Linked DNA regions of Homo sapiens: region 1 is linked to region 2. The links are contacts of gene promoters, found by promoter capture Hi-C in blood cells and fetal thymus (Javierre and others, 2016). All regions are on one chromosome and are shown on one strand. The core of a region is centred on a gene start or on the middle of the fragment in contact, and the rest is flanking DNA. Distances in the headings are between cores, read along the strand shown.

Region 1 (4,869 bases), core at 1,511-4,010, 150 kb before region 2:
CGACTGCGCAGATGGCTGTGGAGCTCTGCGCCTGCTCAGCCCACGTGTGAGAGACGAGGGCCTCTTCGGGAGCTACCACAGAGGCCCGACGGCTGTCCCATGAATCACAGCTGCTTGTTGACCCTCCTCTGCTGGGAGGTTTTCCAAGGTCACTACTGGGGGAAGCTTCAGCTGGCCCGGGTTCCAGAAACTATCAGTGTCCTGTCTTTAACCAGGATGGCATCCTTGTCATCCTCTGGGCAGTGGACAAGCCGGTCCCAAATCCTCCTCTGACCGACCGTTTTCTTGGACCATCCCTGGAACCATTTGTGGAGCTTGGGAGCTCTGAGGAGCAGACACCAGCAAAAAAGTAAAGCCGGAAAATCAGGGGACATGCAAGTGGGGGAAGATGGGGTGGGGTGCAGAGAGGCGAGGCGAGCCGTGGGATGGCGATGCCCATCAGAGGAGCGCAGGGAGAGGAAGGGGGATCTGAGGAGGGGGCTGAGTCCACCATGAGGTTCTCAGGGCAGGTCGGCCTCGTCCTGGTGAAACTTGGAGCCACAGTCACCTGTCAGGGGAGACCCATCTCCCAGGAATGGGCCTGCCTCAGTGTCCCTGGCATGCTCCGTCGTGGCTAGGAGTGGCTGATGGGAATTGTTTCAGCACAAGCGTAGGGAACGGTTTCAGAGCATGTCAGCGAAGGCCTGAGCGATCACTTCCCTGCAGACGAATCGAAAAGGTGCGCTCTCCACATATGTTTATTGCGGCACTATTCACAATAGCAAAGACTTGGAACCAACCCAAATGTCCAACAATGATAGACTGGATTAAGAAAATGTGGCACATATACACCATGGAATACTATGCAGCCATAAAAAAGGATGAGTTCATGTCCTTTGTAGGGACATGGATGAAGCTGGAAACCATCTTTCTCAGCAAACTATCACAAGGACAAAAAAGCAAACACCGCATGTTCTCACTCATAGGTGGGAATTGAACAATGAGAACACATGGACACAGGAAGGGGAACATCACACACGGGAGCCTGTTATGGGATGGGGGAAGGAGGGAGGAATAGCATTAGGAGATATACCTAATGTTTAATGACGAGTTAATGGGTGCAGCACACCAACATGGCACATGTATACATATGTAACAAACCTGCACGTTGTGCACATGTACCCTAAAACTTAAAGTATAATAAAAAAATAGTAAAAAAATAAAAAGAAAAAAAAAGAAAAGGTGCATTCTCACCGCAACCACCATCTCACTGGGCTGTAGCATCTGCTTCCAAACTGGAGGAGCTTCTTTGCAGCCCTGTCTTGCTGGAACCACAATTTTGACTCTGCCTTCTCCCAATTTGGTGACAGACCTGCAGCCAGAATTTGCTCTTTCTTCTGTTACCATCACAGTTGATGCAAGTTGATGGGTCCTGGCATCTTCTTGGTTAATGCTCCACCTTCTGTCTTTTGAAACGGGCAGTGGATCGACCTCGTCCTGCTATGTTCCCTGTGAGAGAGAAGGCTTGGATTCCTTGGGAAGCTTTCTGAATAGCCTGGCCCTCTCCTTTCCTCCGCAGCTGGACTTTCTCAGCACCGTCAGAAGGAACGTCTCCAGCCCTTGGGTTCTTGGTGATCACAGCCTCCCCAGAGGGTTCTGACAGCGGTGGCTGCTGCTTCAGGTGGAAGATACCAGGGTATTTCCTCTGTCCACATTTCTCAGTGCCTAGGCATGACTCTCATTGTGTGGCCATCTCTAGAATCTCAGCGTACAATTATATGCTGTTTGTTTATTCTGAGATTTCTTGGCATTGCCAGTTAGGGCTGTCGCCGTTCATCTGTCTTGGAGTCATAGATTGTTACTGCTAGTAAAGTGCTTATGAGGAAGTTTATGTAACTTTATGTATTTACAGCCAGGGATACTGCAGTTCAGAAAGGTCTATGACCCAGGAAATTTGTGGCAGAGCCAGACTGGAATGCAGGCTCCTGATTCCCAGTTCGGTGTACTTTTCTTTTCCTACCCGACCTGGCTTCTCATCTTTCTTCCCCTCACCCCTTTTGCTCACCTTCCCCTTATTTAATTCCTCCATCTTCACAGGCAATCGCATACAGACTCATACATTCGTGGTCCCTGACTTTCTCTAGCATAAGAGATGCCAGTTACCCTCTGAGCACCTGCAGCAGTGACCCTAATGTATGTGGACCATGGCTTCTTCCTTCCTCACTTCTCCCCTGTCTCACTTCTCACTCTCTCACTCCTGTTTCCCGGGATCACCTTCCAAATAAACAACCCAAGTTCTTGTCTAAGGGTCCACGTGGTGGCAGAATTCTAAAATGACCCCAAGATTCCCACCTCCTGAGATCGTAGCCCCAGCTAACACCTTGACTTCAGCCTTTTGAGATCCTGAGCAGAGAAGCTAGGTTATGTCTTGACCTCTGACCAATATAAACTGTGGGAAAATAAATGGCTGTTGTTTTAAGGCACTCCGTTGGTGGTAATTTCTTATAAACTGAGTACAGCATACCTTTTGTGAAACCCAAACTAAGATGCCTTCCAATTATAAAGCTTCATGAGTCAACACTCATGAAGCAAAAATTACAGAAAATACAAGGAGAAAAAGAAACACATTAATAGTAGAAGATATTAATTCATCTTTTTAGCATATGATAAATCAAGTAGCCAAATAACTAATTAAGGATATAGAACTAAGTGATATAATTAATATAATAGGTTGTATAGATGTCTAGTGTAAGCCAGGTTGAACTAGGCTCACTACAGCCTTTCCCTCACACCAATTACAACTAAAAGCTCCGGACAAAATATACTGAAAAGTTAAAAATAGCAGGCAGATTGGGAAGGGAAACCAAACTTGAAGAATGACGTATTCAAGATATCTAAATTTCTGAGATGCAGTTAAAGCAATGTTTAAAGCAATTTACAGTATTATATGCTTATATTAGAAAAGGAAAATGGCTCATGTCAATAACCCAAGCTTATATCTTAAGGAATTGGAAAAAGAAGAACAGACTACATTCAAGAAGAAGGAAGGAACTAGTAAAGATATCAGCATAAATCAATGCCACTGAAAATAGAAAAATAATAGAAAATAATCAATGAAGCCCCAAATCGGTATTTGGTAAAATATCAACACAATTAATAAACTTCTGGCCAAACTGACCAATATGAAAAAGGGAACCAACAGATCTATTGTACAACGTGATAACTTTAGTTAATATCAATGTACTATATACTTGAAAATTGCTAAGACAGTAGATTTGAAATGTTCTTAACACAAAAAATAAATATGTGAGTAAATACATTAATTAGTTTGCTTTAGTCATTCTACAATGTATACAGGTATCAGAACATTATCTGTACACCATAAATGTATACAATTTTTATTTGTCAATTAAAAACGATTTTTTAAGAAAAGAGGACACACGAATTCCTAAAATCAGAAATGCAAGTGTGGGATATCACTAAAGACCCTACAGACATTCACATAATAAGGGCATACTATGAACAACCCTGTGCCTTTAAGCAGGATAACTTGTACTAAACTGACTAATTATTTGAAGAAGAAAAAGTACCAACATTCATTAAAAATACATAACCTGAATATACTATAAATATCAACATTTCTTAAGGAAATTGAATTCATAGTTAAAATCTTCTGGAAAAAAAAAAAAGAAAAGTCCAGGACTAGGTGGTTTCATTGGCAAATTCTTTAAAGCAGAATAATACCAATTCGACACAATTGCTTAGAGAAAGTAGAAGGGGAAGAAATATTTCTCAACTCATTTTATGAGGCCAGCGTTACTCTGATATCAAACAAGACAAAGACACTATAAGAAAACTACAAATATCCCTCATTAACCTAGATACAAAATCCTCAACACAATATTAGCAAATTGAATCCAGTAATATATAAAAAGGACAATACAGCATGATTATATGGGAATTATCCCAGGAATGCAAGGGTGATTCAACATTTGAAAGTCAATCAATGTAATTAATCATATTAACAGAATAAAAAATATAAACTATATGACCATCACAAAAGATGCAGGCAAAGCATTTGACAAAACTAAATATCCAGTTGTCTTAAATACACTCAACTAAGTAGGAATAGAAAACTTTTTTTAAATGAGATTTTCGTGCTTTCTTTTTTAAAAAAAATTTATTTTATTTTAGGTTCCCAGACACTTGTGCAGAATGTGCAGGTTTGTTACATAGGTAAACGTGTGCCATGGTGGTTTGCTGCACCTATCAACCTATCACCTAGGTATTAAGCCCCACATGCATTAGCTATTAGTCCTGATGCTCTCCCTCCTCCTGCCTCCATGACAGGCCCCAATGTGTGTCTTTCCCCTCCCTGTGTCTATGTGTTCTCATTGTTCAGCTCCCACTTATGAGTGAGAACATGTGGTGTTTGGTTTTCTGTTCCTGTGTTAGTTTGCTGAGGATGATGGCTTCCAGCTTCATCCATGTTCCTGCAAAGGACATAATCTCATTCCTTTTTATGGCTGCATAGTATTCCATGGTGTATATGTACCACATTTTCTTTATCCAGTCTATCACTGGTGAACATTTGGGTTGGTTGCAAGTCTTTGCTATTGTGAATAGTGCTGCAATAAACATATGTGTGCATGTATCTTTATAATAGAATGATTGATATTCCTTTGGGTATATTCCCAGGAATGGGATTGCTGGGTCAAATGGTATTTCTAGCTTTAGATCCTTGAGGAATTGCCACACTGTCTTCCACGGTGGTTGAACTAATTTACATTCCCACCAACAATGTAAAGCATTCCTATTTCTCTGCAGCCTCACCAGCATCTGTTGTTTCTTGACTTTTTAATAATTGCCATTCTGACTGGTGTGAGATGG
Region 2 (5,186 bases), core at 1,173-3,672:
ATTAGTTCCCACTAAAAATAACTCCCCCACCACCCGGCTGCACACCTACCTCCTGGCCTGGCACTGAAGTGTGCCTGAGCTACTCTTGGGGGTGACAGCCAGCCTGTGACAGAACCTACAACACGGAGGGTGCACAGAGCAGGAGGCTTTATTGAGGGAGATACAGAAGCGGGCGTGGGCTCTCGTGCCAGCCAGGCCGCGGCCTCCACTCGTCCCACACGGCCCTGCGGCTCCTGCACACCCCTCCCTCCCGGGCTCCTGGACAGCAGGCAACATAGAGGAGTCTTACCCAGCCTTGGCAGAGGTGCCGGGAGGGCCTTCAGAGTCTGTCCAGGGGAGGGTTGGGGGGACACAGGACAGCCCTTCTGTGCTGTCGATGACATGCCTGCCACATCTACCCATCTGTCCACCGCCTGGTCCATCTCTGCCTGAGGGGCCCTCCTGTCACTTGCAACTCTGGAGCCGGGTCCTGTGGTGCTTCTCCTCGGTCAGGAGGGGGATGAAGGTGTCGCTGTGGGAGAGCTTCAGCCGGCTGCTGCAGCTCGGCGCCTCCTTCCCCGCAGGCTCTGGAGGGAGGTTGTCCAGGTCACTGCGGGAGCCCCCGGTCTTGCCCTCGCCCCCGCTGCTGGAGTTGAGTTCCATCAGCTCCAGCTCGTGCTTGGCCGCGGTCTCCAGGACGCGCTGCTTGTTGTAGTACCTGACAAAGTTGTTGATGATGGGGTGGATGGGCAGGGCGATGGCGATGACACCACACAAGAAGCTGATGGCCGCGTTGAGCTTGCCCAGCGTGGTCTTGGGGTAGATGTCGCCGTAGCCGACGGTGGTCATGGTGATGATGGCCCACCAGAAGGACTGGGGGATGCTCTTAAACAGGGTCTCTGGATGGCTCTGCTCCATGGTGTAGCCCAGGGCAGAGAAGACGAAGATACCCACTGCCAGGTACATGAGCAGCAGCCCCAGTTCCTTGAAGCTGCGCTTGAGGGCATAGGTGAGGGTCTGCAGGCCCGAGGAGTGGCGGGCCAGCTTGAAGATGCGCGCGATGCGCATGATCCGCAGCGCCTGCACGGCCTGCTGCACGTTGGTCAGCTCCATCATGCGGGCACCCAGGTGCGTGAGCGTGAGGCTCACGTAGAAGGGGAGGATGGCCAGCACGTCCACAATGTTCATGAAGGACAGCGCGAAGTGCAGCTTGTTGGGTGACGAGAAGAGGCGCAGCAGGTACTCCAGGGTGAACCAGCCAATGCACGCCGTCTCCACGTTCTCCAGCGTCGGGTGCTCCACGCGGTTGCCCTCGGCGTCCAGCACCTGCAGCTCGGGGATGGTGCCCATGCACATGACCACGGACGAGACGAGGATGAGCAGGAAGGAGAGCACGGCCACCACCCGCGCCGGGCACGACGACTCGGGCTTCTCCAGGAACTTCCAGACGCACTTCTGGCAGCGGCGCCAGCGGCCCTCGGCTGCGTCCACGCCCAGGTCGTCCAGGATGAGCTGCACGCGGCGCGCGATCTCCTCCAGCTCCTCGCGCTTCTCGCTCAGGTGGCTCTTGCAACAGTCGTCCAGGAACTTGAGGTCCACCTTCCAGAAGTCCATCTCGTTCTTGAAGCAGATGGGGCAGATGCCCTTCTTCATGTGGACCTCCCCGAAATAGTACACCTCGATGACACACTTGAAGGCGTCCGGGTCCCTGTCAAAGTAGAACTCGCGCTTGCCGGGGTCGTAGTCGTCGCACAGGGAGAAGATGGTGTCGTAGCCCCCAGCCAAGCAGTTGATGAGCTCCGCCAGCCGGGTCTCAGGGTACTGACTGAGGAGGTCCCCGTACAGCACCTGCCGCACGCCCCCCACGTTGACGACTATCTCTATGTCGTCGCTGGCAGCGGAGCTCTGGCTGCCCGGCTCCGGGAGGCTGCGCTCCCCGGACCCGTCCATCCTCCCCGCGCGCGCCCTCGCAGCCTCCGCCCCGCGCCCCCTGCAGCCGCCGCCGCCGCTGCCGCTGGGGGTCCGGCGGGTGCCACCCGTGCGCTGATCTCGGGGAGAGCCTGGCCGGCGCCCGCCTGCGGGGAAGGGCGGTCACAGCGGGCAGCAGCCTGCGGGGGCGCGCCGCGGGGGAGGCATGCACCCGGCGGCGGGGCTCGGGGCTGGCATCCGGGCGCCCGGGCGAGCCCGCGGGGGCTTTGGCGGCCGCCGGCCTCGCCCGGGGCACTCACCCCGGCTGGCTGGCGGCGCGCTCCGCCGCTTCAGCTCGGCCTCCTGCGGGAGCGGGGTCTCCTCGTGGGCGGCTGGCACCGTCCTCCGCCCCGGGGCGCGCAGGCAGCGGCGGCAGGTCCCGGAGCTGGCGGACCCACGCCGTCCGCGAGGTGCTCGAGGTGTGCAGAGAGCGAACTTGGGCTGGCTTTGCCCGAGCCTTTTCTAAACACAATAGGAATTCCAGCCTGACGTCAGGAGCTTTTCAAACTGTACCCTCTTCTGGTGAAATTCTGCAAGGCACGCGCGGCAGCTGCAGGGGACGGATTAACCCTTGGGCAGACGGGCACAGCTGCCGCGCCCGCCGCCACCACCGCGCACCGCCGGCCCCTCCTCGGGCGCAGCGGGTCACCGAGGGGTTGCGACCTGGCTTGAAGCGGCAGGCATTCTCTCTCACTGCTGTTTGGAGAGGATTAGTGGGGAGAGAATGCTGCCGCCTGTTGCTGGGCAGGAAAATGTGCTCCAGGAAGCCCCTTAGAAGGTGACTCCTATGTCTGGGTCCCTCCTCCGGCCTTAGACCCGCGCCGGCTTTTCCTGGTGGGAGGAAAATCCTGCCTGATCCTTGAAGCGTTTCCTGCCCCATCCCCCCGACCCAGCAATGCCCTGCTGTGTTGGTGGCACTGTCTCACCTTCCCCGCAACGCTGTACAAGGAGGACATCTAGTCCAGCCTCCTGTAGAAGGGAAGGGACTTGCCCAAGGTCACGCGGCGGAATGAGAGCAGAGCTCAGCTTGACCGCCTCCTGATCCCGAGCTTTCCGGCTGTCCCAGCTGACCGACGCCTGCTGTTCAGCAGATTTCAATTCTGCCTTGAAGTCCCTGCCGTCTGGCACCTCCTATCTCTCTGCAGTCCCACACCAAGGCCACTAGCTTCCAGACCCCTAGGGTCCAGTGGCTCCTGCTTCCCCGTTCCTCACTCCTTGACCAAGGCCTGTCTCTTCCTGACCAGTGTCCCACACCCTCCTCTCTTCCAGCCTTTGCAGCCACAGCTGTCCTTCTGTCCTCACTCACCTGAACCACTACAGCAGCTTCCTAACAGTGTCTCTCTCCTCCGGTTCACCACTATCATCAATACTGCAAATTACTGATATCATCTATGGCCTCGAGATCGTGTTAAAAATATTCTGGAGGGAAGAATGAATAGGCAGAGCAGAGGATTTTTAGGGCAGTGAAACGTACCATAATGGCGGATATGTGTCGTTATGCAATGGTCAAAATCCATAGAATGTTCACCACCAGGAGCGAATGTTAATGCAAACTCGGTGCTGGGCGATGATGACGTGTCCATGTGGGGTGGTCCACCATGACAAGTGTCCCACCCTGTGTGAGATGTTGATGCGCAGGGGAGAGCTGTGGAGACAGGGGGCATGTGGGAATTCTCTGTACTTTCTGTTGAATTGTGCTCTAAAATATAAAGTCTATTTAAAAATGTATTCTGTAGGCTGGGTTTTTTAAAACTTAAGGACATGTCCGTTAATGGATTATGAAATCAATTTACTGGGTCACTGACAGTATTCTTTTTTCTTTAATGAGTTAGCATAAAACAGAATATATTAGAATACATCACATGAAGTATTATTTAGTGAAACTTCGTTTTACAAATTTTACTTCATTTCCATTTAGCATCAGACAATGACATGCTACTACAGAGTAGGAAATCGAGGCTCAGAAAGGTTGAGTAATAATAAGAGTTGCCACTTATTCTCCATGGGCATCGGAGTGCAGTCTCTGAGTGCTTTGCATTTTTGTCATTTAATTTCCCAGCAACCCCTAAGGAAACAAGATGTCAGGTAACCTGCCGAGATCACTCTGTGGAGCTGGGATTTAACCATTGTCCTGCTGGGTTCTGAGGCCTATTCTTCTCCCCAGTACAGTGCTACACACCACCTCCTACACACACCCCAGCTTCCTCTTCCAATCCTTATGCATGCTACTCCCCTTATCAGCTGTCCGAGTACCTGCAGGGTTAAGTTCAAATTGCATCCTAGTCTGAGCTTAATGGGCTTCTAAATACCCATTCATTCACTCAGTTATTCAAATATTTATCGAGCTCTTATGGCACATGTGTGCAAATGCACACACACACACATACACACACCACCCTAGGTGTGGGGACAGGGTTCATATTCTAGTAGATAATATGTTTTTTGTAAATAATAATTAACAGTTTGGGGTAATGACCTTAACAAGAGGGGTATATGTATTATACAAGAGTGGTGCTTCCTGAATTTCTCCACAGGGGGCGCTGAGGGGCGGCCATCTGGTTGGAAGAGGGAGGGGCTGCATTTGCCTAGAAGCCCAGCCTTCACTCACTCAGGTTTGCATCGGGGTGTCTGATGAATCTCCCTCAGCAGATAGAGCCCCAATAGCTACTCCTTTGTATCGTCATGAAATACAAGGTGCTGTGGAACCCGGGAGTTTGCAGATACCTGGGCAGGCCCAGGAGAGGCTGGTGCATTAAAATTATACCGCTGGGATTTAGAGAGATCAATGTCATTGAAAGAACGCATTACTAACATGTCCTGAGAGAAGAGGACACGCCAGAGGAAATTCCAGGTGTGGCCAGGCAGAAGCAGGAGCGAGGGGAAAACGAGGCCAGGCCCTCTATTGGGGTTTCCTGGGGGAAAAGTTAGGGCAGAACAGAGGAAAGAGTCCAGGATTGGCTCCTTGGGATAATTCTGGTGGGCTTTGAACTACAGAGGTGGTCTCTAGTTGCCTGGTCCCTGGTCTGGGATGATTTAGGGCAGGGAAATATTGCCTTGGTGTGTGAGAGTTTGATGAGGGGAAGTTGGGGGTCTGGGCCTGGAATTGGTGGGTTTGCCTGTGAAAGATACGCTCCAGCCTTTCGCAATCTCTAAGGATGTCACCCACTGGGAGGGGCAGTCTCTCCAGTCTGTGAGGCCACATTGCCAGTCATCAGGAATGCAGAAAATAAGAAATCATA

What was found. Contacts are between HindIII fragments. The CHiCAGO score rates a contact against its expected background, and 5 or more counts as called.
Region 1: a contact is called between a fragment that was not itself captured here and the fragment with the promoter of KCNF1 in region 2, in 1 of 17 cell types (endothelial precursors). The highest score is 5.1, in endothelial precursors.

The regions. Positions count from the first base shown.
Region 1 is chr2:11,062,987-11,067,855 of GRCh38, reverse strand. No RefSeq gene overlaps it. Among named protein-coding and RNA genes, the nearest start is that of FLJ33534, 67 kb to the left of the region's middle. The HindIII fragment of the contact is 427 bases long and covers 2,547-2,973 here.
Region 2 is chr2:10,909,170-10,914,355 of GRCh38, reverse strand. It overlaps KCNF1 (potassium voltage-gated channel modifier subfamily F member 1), which reads right to left and starts at 2,422. Exons shown (of 1, transcript NM_002236.5): 1 at 131-2,422. The coding sequence starts at 1,929. The coding sequence ends at 445. RefSeq lists an enhancer at 4,877-5,186. The HindIII fragment of the contact is 10,094 bases long and covers 1-5,186 here.